Linked DNA regions of Homo sapiens: all the other regions are linked to region 2. Evidence: promoter capture Hi-C in human tissues and cell types (Jung and others, 2019). All regions are on one chromosome and are shown on one strand. The core of a region is centred on a gene start or on the middle of the fragment in contact, and the rest is flanking DNA. Distances in the headings are between cores, read along the strand shown. Region 1 has its middle 45 kb from the start of MROH9. Region 2 holds the start of FMO4 (flavin containing dimethylaniline monoxygenase 4). Region 3 holds the start of MROH9 (maestro heat like repeat family member 9).

Region 1 (2,700 bases), core at 145-2,644, 420 kb after region 2:
GGAATTATGGATTCTGGCCAGGGAAGAAGTGTAGGGGGTTTAGAACCCCCTTGAATGATCTTAAAAAGTGAAGAAATATCCTTTCAATAGAGAAACGTCAAGTTCTGCAGGTGAGAGCATTTTTAGCTTAGGATTGGGAGTGATTCAGAGTGGTAGGCTGAAAGATTGGCTCCCATTCTTCACACTTTCTTGCTTCCATATTTAGTCATAGCCCCATCATTGGTGGAGTGTATTTTCTTGCTTCATAGACTTTGGGCTTGGCCATGTGACTTGCTTTGATCCTGGGGACAAGAGTGACAATGGGTCAGTTTCATACCTGGGCCTTAACAGGACTCATATACTTCCTCTTGTTCCCTTTTGCCTCTGCTCCCTCCATGAATGAAGAAGTGTGCCTGTTTCTGGGACTCTTAGGATAATGAGATATGTGAAGTAGAGACTCCAGGCTGGCCCACAGACCTGTAGTGGGAAGCAATGGCATCTAGGGAGACACAGCTTCAAGTAGATCCACCCAGCTGAGCACAGCATCCATCCCAGTTCAGCCAACCCACGGACTCATGGAAATAAATGTTCTTTTAAGTCAGTGAGTTTTGGGTGAATTTTTTACTCAGATATATAGTGGCAAAGACTAGTTAATAATTGTTTGGGAAACAAATGATGGTGTGTGGAGGTAGGAAGAGGATGAAGCTGGAAGCGGGTTTGATTCTGGCTGTCTTTCCTTGGTTCTTCACAGTCTCTAAATAGAGGCAGCTATCAGGCAAATGGCTGGCCAGCCCAGCATTTGACTGTCTTCACTGACTCGTTGCAATTCAAATCCTGCTTGCTTGACCAGAAACCTGGCTTTCCAAAATTCAGAGCAAGCCATACAGTCTGGGGGCAAAGGGCTTTTATTTCTGCTCACAAATACTCTAAATTTGACAATAACTAAGCTGAAAATGGGAGAGGTAGATTAATTTAGGAACATAGGAATATCTATGCTTCTTATACTGTAAAATATCATGTAAGCTCTTTGATTGTAAAGAATAATTCCAGTCATCTTTTTGCCCAGCTCAGTGGTGGGTAAACACAGAAATGTTATACATTCTACTAAAGTGCTAAATGTTAAATGTTCCTGGGTTGTAAGGCCTGTTTCAGAATCTGGATAATAAGTTGAATGTTACATTTGTAGCTCTCTTCCCTTCATAACCCCAACGTCAACGAATCGTTTTTTATTCCTTGCTCTCTTCCCTAAATAACCCCAATATCAATGAATAGTTTTCGAATTCCTTTTTGCCAAGCTTTCTTCCTCCAAAATATTGGATTTATGTCATGTGATTTATAAAGATACATGCTGAGATTGTGGATGCTGAGACTTTGAATGGTATATTCACTCTGCATCAATTCCTCAATTAGGAAATCTAGCTACCTATACGTATAGAAGCTGAAGGTTAATTGCCTCAACAAGCACGCATTGAGGATGTGTGATTGCTTGGTGCCAATGAGTAGCTTCCATCTACTTCCTAGATTGATGGTATTTGTCTTATCTGCCCCCACACCTTGATCACAGAAAAATCCAATTCTGCTGTACAGGCTTAGAAGCTTGCGGCAGGGGGCAAGATACCAAAATACAAATGTCCTGTCACACGACTTGGACTGCACTGAAGGTTTACCTCTAGATAATAAAAATAACAACAATAACAACAACAACCACAGTATTTTAGCTAGAATATTTTCTGAACACTTAGGATCAACAGGCACTGTGCTAAATGTTTTCCTCGCATTATTTCATTTAAACTTCACAACAATCCTATGAGGTGGTAACCATGATTAATCCAGAGAAGTTAAACCACTTGCAGTTAGTAAGTAGCTGAAGCAGGTATTGAACATATTCCTAGGTCACTGCTTTTCACTACTTTGCTAAGAGGTGTTAGTTGAAAGCATGATTTTGGATGTTCTCTTAAAAGACCAGGACCCTTTTTCCACTTACTTGTCTTTTCCATAATTAGTGGTTAATCTTAGTCTTACTTTATTCCAAATTTCTCTTGATAGAACTCCAAAAATACTTAACAACTTCCAAATGTAATAGTGGGTGACCCGGCGCTTTCTCATTTATACTTTCAGTTCAGGTCAAGTGTCATCACACTGAAGCCTTCAAGCATGACTGAGTTTGCGCTAGAAGTATAGAAAAATCTAATTTGTCACCAACCACTTCATAAGAAGATAGGCACAAAAACTAAGTGGCCTTATCCAATTGAACTCCTTACCTGTGCTGAGTCTAATCATAAATACTAATTTTTAAAATAAACCTCACATGTTTAATTTGATTTTTTCTGAAAATAAAAAAGTATTCCCATATGATTACTTAGAATAAATCTAGTAAATCACTGTCTTCGTCGTACCAAAGATTTTTTAAAAGCCTACTCCAATAGTTTTCATGTGGTTAACTGTATGGGTCCTACTGATGGGACAAGTCCTAGAATTAAAAAAAAAAAAAAAAAAAAAAAAGAAAAAAAGAAAAAGGGAGAAATGCCTTTTTTAAGACTATGAGAACAGAATTACTTTATGCTATTTAGAGAAGCTTGGAAGATTTTTTTCCCTTTGGTAAATGCCACAAAAGAGACATTCCTCATGAAAACTTAACAGAGAGACAGGCTGTAGCATAGTGAGGATGGCCTCTGGGAATAGTTATAGGAGAGAGTTTGGAGCCAGGATCAGTAATTATGA
Region 2 (2,700 bases), core at 108-2,607:
ACATTTGTAAAACAGAGGGTTCAAGTGGCTTTCTCTTTGTTTCCTTCAAGCTTGAAAGGACTGTTCTTATGTCTGAAAACCAAGTAATTGGTGCACAAAAAAAAAAAGATATGAATTCAAAGGTAGGCGAGAATACTGCAGGCTTGAAGGATTGGGAGAACGTGTGTGCAAACTCTGCAAACTATAAAGTGGACTTCATAAGGTACTTGGTTGCTCAAAGGTGCTTATATTTATTTATTTATTTATTTGAGTTGGAGTCTCACTCTGTCTTCCAGGCTGGAATGCAGTGGCACAATTTCGGCTCACTGCAACCTCCACCTCCTGGGTTCAAGTGATTCTCCTGCCTCAGCCTCCTGAGTAGCTGAGACTACAGGCAGGCGGCACCACGCCTGGATAATTTTTGTATTTTTAGTAGAGACGGGGTTTCACCATGTTGGTCAGGCTGGTCTCAAACTCCTGATCTCAAGTGGTCTGCCCTCCTCGGCTTTCCAAAGTGCTGGGATTACAGGCGTGAGCCACCGTGCCAGCCATAGGTTGCTTATATTTAGTCCCTTGGCAGAAAGGAGACCTGACCTATTGAACTAGACCTTTGTACAACGGGAAAACCCCACCCTATACCTGACTGACCAGCAAATGTAGGAATCCTTTATGAGACATGGAGAGACTTGGGTGATTTGCAAATCATGTAATCAATTATGATTTCTTTGAATTTGAAATTTGATCATTTTATGTTTCTTATCATCATCCTACCATGCTCTTGCTTTGTTACAGTATTTTTTTCCCACGCCATCTATGGGGTATTTGTTTCCCAATGGCTGGCATTTCCATCTCATTCATAAGATGAAATCAGAGGTCACTGGAGTCACTGAAAGTCTCATGATTCTGTTTATCTCACTGACACTTTCCTTTTGGATGGTTCTGTCCACAACATAACTTTGTTTCCTTACAACTTCCCTTTGCTTCCTGACTCTCTCCTTAATTCTCTTGCTTTAGCCCTAGTCAAGAGACCCCAAAAGAAGATAATCACATTCATTCTTAAGGAACACACTCCAAGAAAAACATTCATCTTTTGTGAAAGCAGTTTCTGGATCATTTCCCCATTAAAAAAAAAATCCAGGACACTTACCTTGGTTAGCATAGAGCAGATTCTTTGACTTAAATTATTTCTCAAAGTCAAGGAAAGTGTTTGTCTTTTTTTTTTAAAAAAGCTCAAAACCCAAATTCTTTTTTCTGAAAGAAAAATAAATGGAAAGATGACTTTTGTAAAAGTGCCCTCAGTTTAAAACAAAAGCCATTCGTCTTTTCTGTTATGCTAGTGACAGCAGAAAGTATACAGACTAAGGAAAAAAAGTTGTGTAAGAGGCAAGCGTGATACTTCCGTGATCTTAAGGGAGGGCGGAATGGTGAGTTAGAATACAGCTGTTGGATTGGCAGAACATAAACGCTTCCTGCCCCTTTACCCCACCCTCCTCAACGTCATAGTTCTGGCAAAGCCCTAAAGCTATGGGAAGCACATGATAGCGTCGCTTTTGCCATTATAGTCTGTAGAGGGCGCCAAATCACCCCAAATTACAGCTTTCTCAGCGAAACAGGAGTTCTACTTTTGGAAACAAACTTCTACACCCTGACTCTTGCTTGGATTACCATAGGAGCTGTCCAAAGGAGAAAGTTATTTAGATGACCATTACCTCATCAAGTTCTTTCATGCTTGGAGTTCTCCAACCCCAGAAATGTGATTTTAAAGTTCAGGACTTACAAGGAATTTAAGCTGTTTTGTCCTTCAGATTGGATCAGCAGAGGGAGCTGGTGAAATGTGTTTGAGAAAGCATAAAGCTATTTTTAGATATTAACCTAGGGCACAAGAAAGGTAATAATTATAGAAGCTGTGGCAGAAATAGAAAACTTAACTGTTTTTCCTTCCACTGTGTGCTTGTAAGATAATATAACAGACCATCTTTAGGACTTGTGTTTAGGGACATTTTCCAACATGGTTCACTGAACAATTTCTAAACCACATTTGCTTGTGACTACACATGCAAATGCCTACAGGAGTGAGGAGGGTAACATACACGAGGAAAGTGGGCCAGATATGATCTGACTGGAAAGTACTTTCTCTGTCTATTCAGTTCAGCTAAATGTTGCTATTTGAGAAAATGAGCCCAATATGGCAAGGCCTTAGGTTCTTTTCAGTAAAAGCTGCAAATACAGATTTTAATATAAAATCTTCTGTTGGCAGCAAATATTTTCTTTTGAAAAATATCATGGAATATTATGCAGCCATAAAAAGAAATAAGATCATGTCCTTTGCAGGGACATGGATGAAGCTGGAAGCCATCATCCTCAGCAAACTAACACAGGAACAGAAAACCAAACACTGCATGTTCTCACTCATAAGTGGGAGTTGAACAATGAGAACACATGGACACAGAGAGGGGAATGTTGTAGGGCCTGTTGTAGGGTAGGGGGTGAGGAGAGGGAACTTAGAGGAGAACAGGTCAATAGGTGCAGCAAATCACCATGGCACACGTGTACCTATGCAACAAACCTGCACGTTCTGCACATGCATCCCACTTTTTTTTAGAAGAAATAAAGAAAAAAATTTAAAAAAAGAAAAAAAAATATTGTGTCCAGAGTTAGTTCCTTCCGGTGGGTTCCTGGTCTCCCTGACTTCAAGAATGGAGCTGCGGACCTTTGTGGTGA
Region 3 (2,700 bases), core at 177-2,676, 380 kb after region 2:
AAGTAAGAAATGATGTAATGCATGTTTCAATTAATTGAATAACTGTCTTTGTTTCTCACTTCTGTAATATGCTTCCCCCTACACAGATCTCCCCCACCCCACGAAATGATTAAAAGATAACTCTTTGTTCAGGGCTCAGTCCTTTGGAGGTTAATCCAACTGGGCCGGTGCACCTAAATAATAAATATCCTTCTCAACCCCATCGGTCTCTCTGATTCCTTATCAATCCCACTACATTTCAACATGTTAAATGGAATTATGAGCTTCTTATTGACTTTATTTGGAGATTAACTATGGCTTAAGGATATGTATATGGGTGCCAAATTTTCAACGTGGGAACTCATTATGGTTAGTTAATATTACGTGTCAAACTGAGTGAGCCATAGGATGCCCAGATATCTGGTAAACATTATTTTGGGGTATGTCTGTGAGGGTATTTCCAGAAGAGATTAGCATTTAAATTGGTGTTCTGATGATAGGAGATGACACTCCCTAATGTGGGTCAACATCTTCCAATCCATTGAGGGCCTGAATAAAACAAGAAGGCAGAAGAATGCTTAGTTTTCTCTTTGCCTGACTACTTGACTTGGGACACAAATCTGCTGCCCTCGGTGCTCTGGTTCTCAGATCCTCAGAACCAGGCTGGAATTTTTATCATCAACTCTCTTGCTCTCAGGCCTTCAAACTGCACCATTGGATCTCCTGGGTCTCTGTCTTGCAGAAAGCAGAATCCAGGACTTCCTAGCTTCTATTATTGTGTAAACCAATACCTTATAATAAATATATTTATCTATATAGTTGTGGTTTCTCTCATCCTTACTAATAAGATAATCCTTACTAGTAAGGCATGAAGTTAGGAGATTAATGAATAAAGACAAATTCTTCCAATTGCCAACTTTGGCAAGATTTCTGGATGAGGGCCCATAGTAATGTAATTTTCTTTTTCTTTTCTTTTTTTTTTTTTTTTTTTTTTTTTTGTCTCACTCTGTTGCCAGGCTGGAGTGCAGTAGCATGATCTCGGCTCACTGCAACCTCCACCTCCCGAGTTCAAGTGATTCTCCTGCCTCAGCCTCCTGAGTAGCTGGGATTACAGGCACCCGCCACCACACCCAGCTAATTTTTGTATTTTTAGTAGAGATGGGGTTTCACCAAGTTGCCTAGGGTGGTCTCGACCTCCTGACCTCATGATCCGCCCACAGCCTCCCAAAGTGCTGGGATTACAGGTGTGAGCCACCATACCTGGGCCATAACGTAATTTTCTAATGTATTCATGGTTCTTTTTCTTAACAGAACAAAAATTAAGAAAAGTAGTCAGGATTAGAAAAAAAGACAAGCTTTTGAATGACAGAAATATTAATAGGAATTCACTTACATATTTGTAACTTCTCTGTAATCACGGTGAGACAAAGTAGTGAAGAGAAACTCTAGTATATTACCTCTTAGCCAAAGGTAAAATACTCTAGGTAGTTATCAACCAAGCAAATTCTTTGAAATGTTGACACTCGTCATGGCAACCATATGTTTCAAAGATTCCATTCTGGAATGAATGTGGTAGAATGTCCTGGCATGCCCAAGTGGCTACTAATGCTCACCTGTCATTATTGAGGGGTGGGTAAGTTTCTGGTTTCTATGTTACAAGCACTGAAAGATAGTTCTTCAGACCAACAGTCCAGTAGAAGCTGGGCAAAGGATAAGAATAGAAAATTCACAGAAAAGGAAAACTGAATGGCCAATAAATATTTTAAAAGATTTTTAATCTCACTTGAAGTTATGAAAATACAAACCATTAAAATATTATTTCCCAGCTAATAAGTTAAAAAGTACTAAAATACAAGTAAAAATTAAAAAAAGATAATTTCAAATATTGGCAAAGATAAAAGAAAGTTGAACTTTCTCACACGACTGGTGGGATTATAAATGGATATAACTAGTTTGTAGAGAAACTTGTCAAGTTCTAGCAAAACTGAAAATCTACAACCCAGAATTTCCAGTTCTAGGTCCATAGAGTGTATAAACATGTATACAACTGATGCACTGAGAGACATGAAGGATGTTTATTGTAGCACTTTTTATAATAGAGTTATTAAAATATAATTCACATACCATAAAATTTATCTTAAAGTATATAATTCAATCATTTTAAATATATTTACAGAGGTATACAACCATCATTACTATCTAATTTTAGAACATTTTCATTTAGAACAAGCTCCAAAGAAACCCTGTACCTGTTAGCAGACATTCACCCTCCCTCTCCCCCAAGTACCTGGCAACCACTAATCTTCTGTCTGCCTTCTGGACATTTTATGTAAATAGATTTATACAATATGTGACTTTTTATGATTAGACTGTTTGGATTTTTATTACTGAGTTGTGATTTTTTAATATGTTCTAGATGCTAGTCTCTTATCAGATACATAATTTGCAAATATTCCTCCTTTTCTATGGGCTGCCTTTACATTTTCTTGACAGTGTCTCTTGAAGCACAAAAGTTTTAAATTTAAGTGAAATTTAAATTTGCCATTCTTTTTCTTTTATTGCTTGTGTTTTTGGTATCATAACTAAAAAAAAAGAAAAAGACATTGCCTGCATTCCCTGGCCCAACTTCACAGAGATTAGATTTAGAACTTTTCTAAGAGTTTTGTAGTTTTTGCCTTACATTTAGGTCTTTGGTTCATTCTGAATTAGTTTTAGTATATA

Evidence for each region. Contacts are between HindIII fragments. The study calls those that stand out against the background at their distance.
Region 1: a fragment that was not itself captured here is called in contact with the fragment with the promoter of FMO4 in region 2 in 1 of the 25 tissues and cell types used here (aorta).
Region 3: the fragment with the promoter of MROH9 here is called in contact with the fragment with the promoter of FMO4 in region 2 in 1 of the 25 tissues and cell types used here (stomach).

Annotation. Positions count from the first base shown.
Region 1 is chr1:170,888,920-170,891,619 of GRCh38, reverse strand. No RefSeq gene overlaps it. Among named protein-coding and RNA genes, the nearest start is that of MROH9, 45 kb to the left of the region's middle. The HindIII fragment of the contact is 4,840 bases long and covers 1-2,700 here.
Region 2 is chr1:171,312,840-171,315,539 of GRCh38, reverse strand. It overlaps FMO4 (flavin containing dimethylaniline monoxygenase 4), which reads right to left and starts at 1,357. Exons shown (of 10, transcript NM_002022.3): 1 at 1,127-1,357. The HindIII fragment of the contact is 8,197 bases long and covers 1-2,700 here.
Region 3 is chr1:170,934,260-170,936,959 of GRCh38, reverse strand. It overlaps MROH9 (maestro heat like repeat family member 9), which reads right to left and starts at 1,426. Exons shown (of 22, transcript NM_001163629.2): 1 at 1,373-1,426. The HindIII fragment of the contact is 10,538 bases long and covers 1-2,700 here.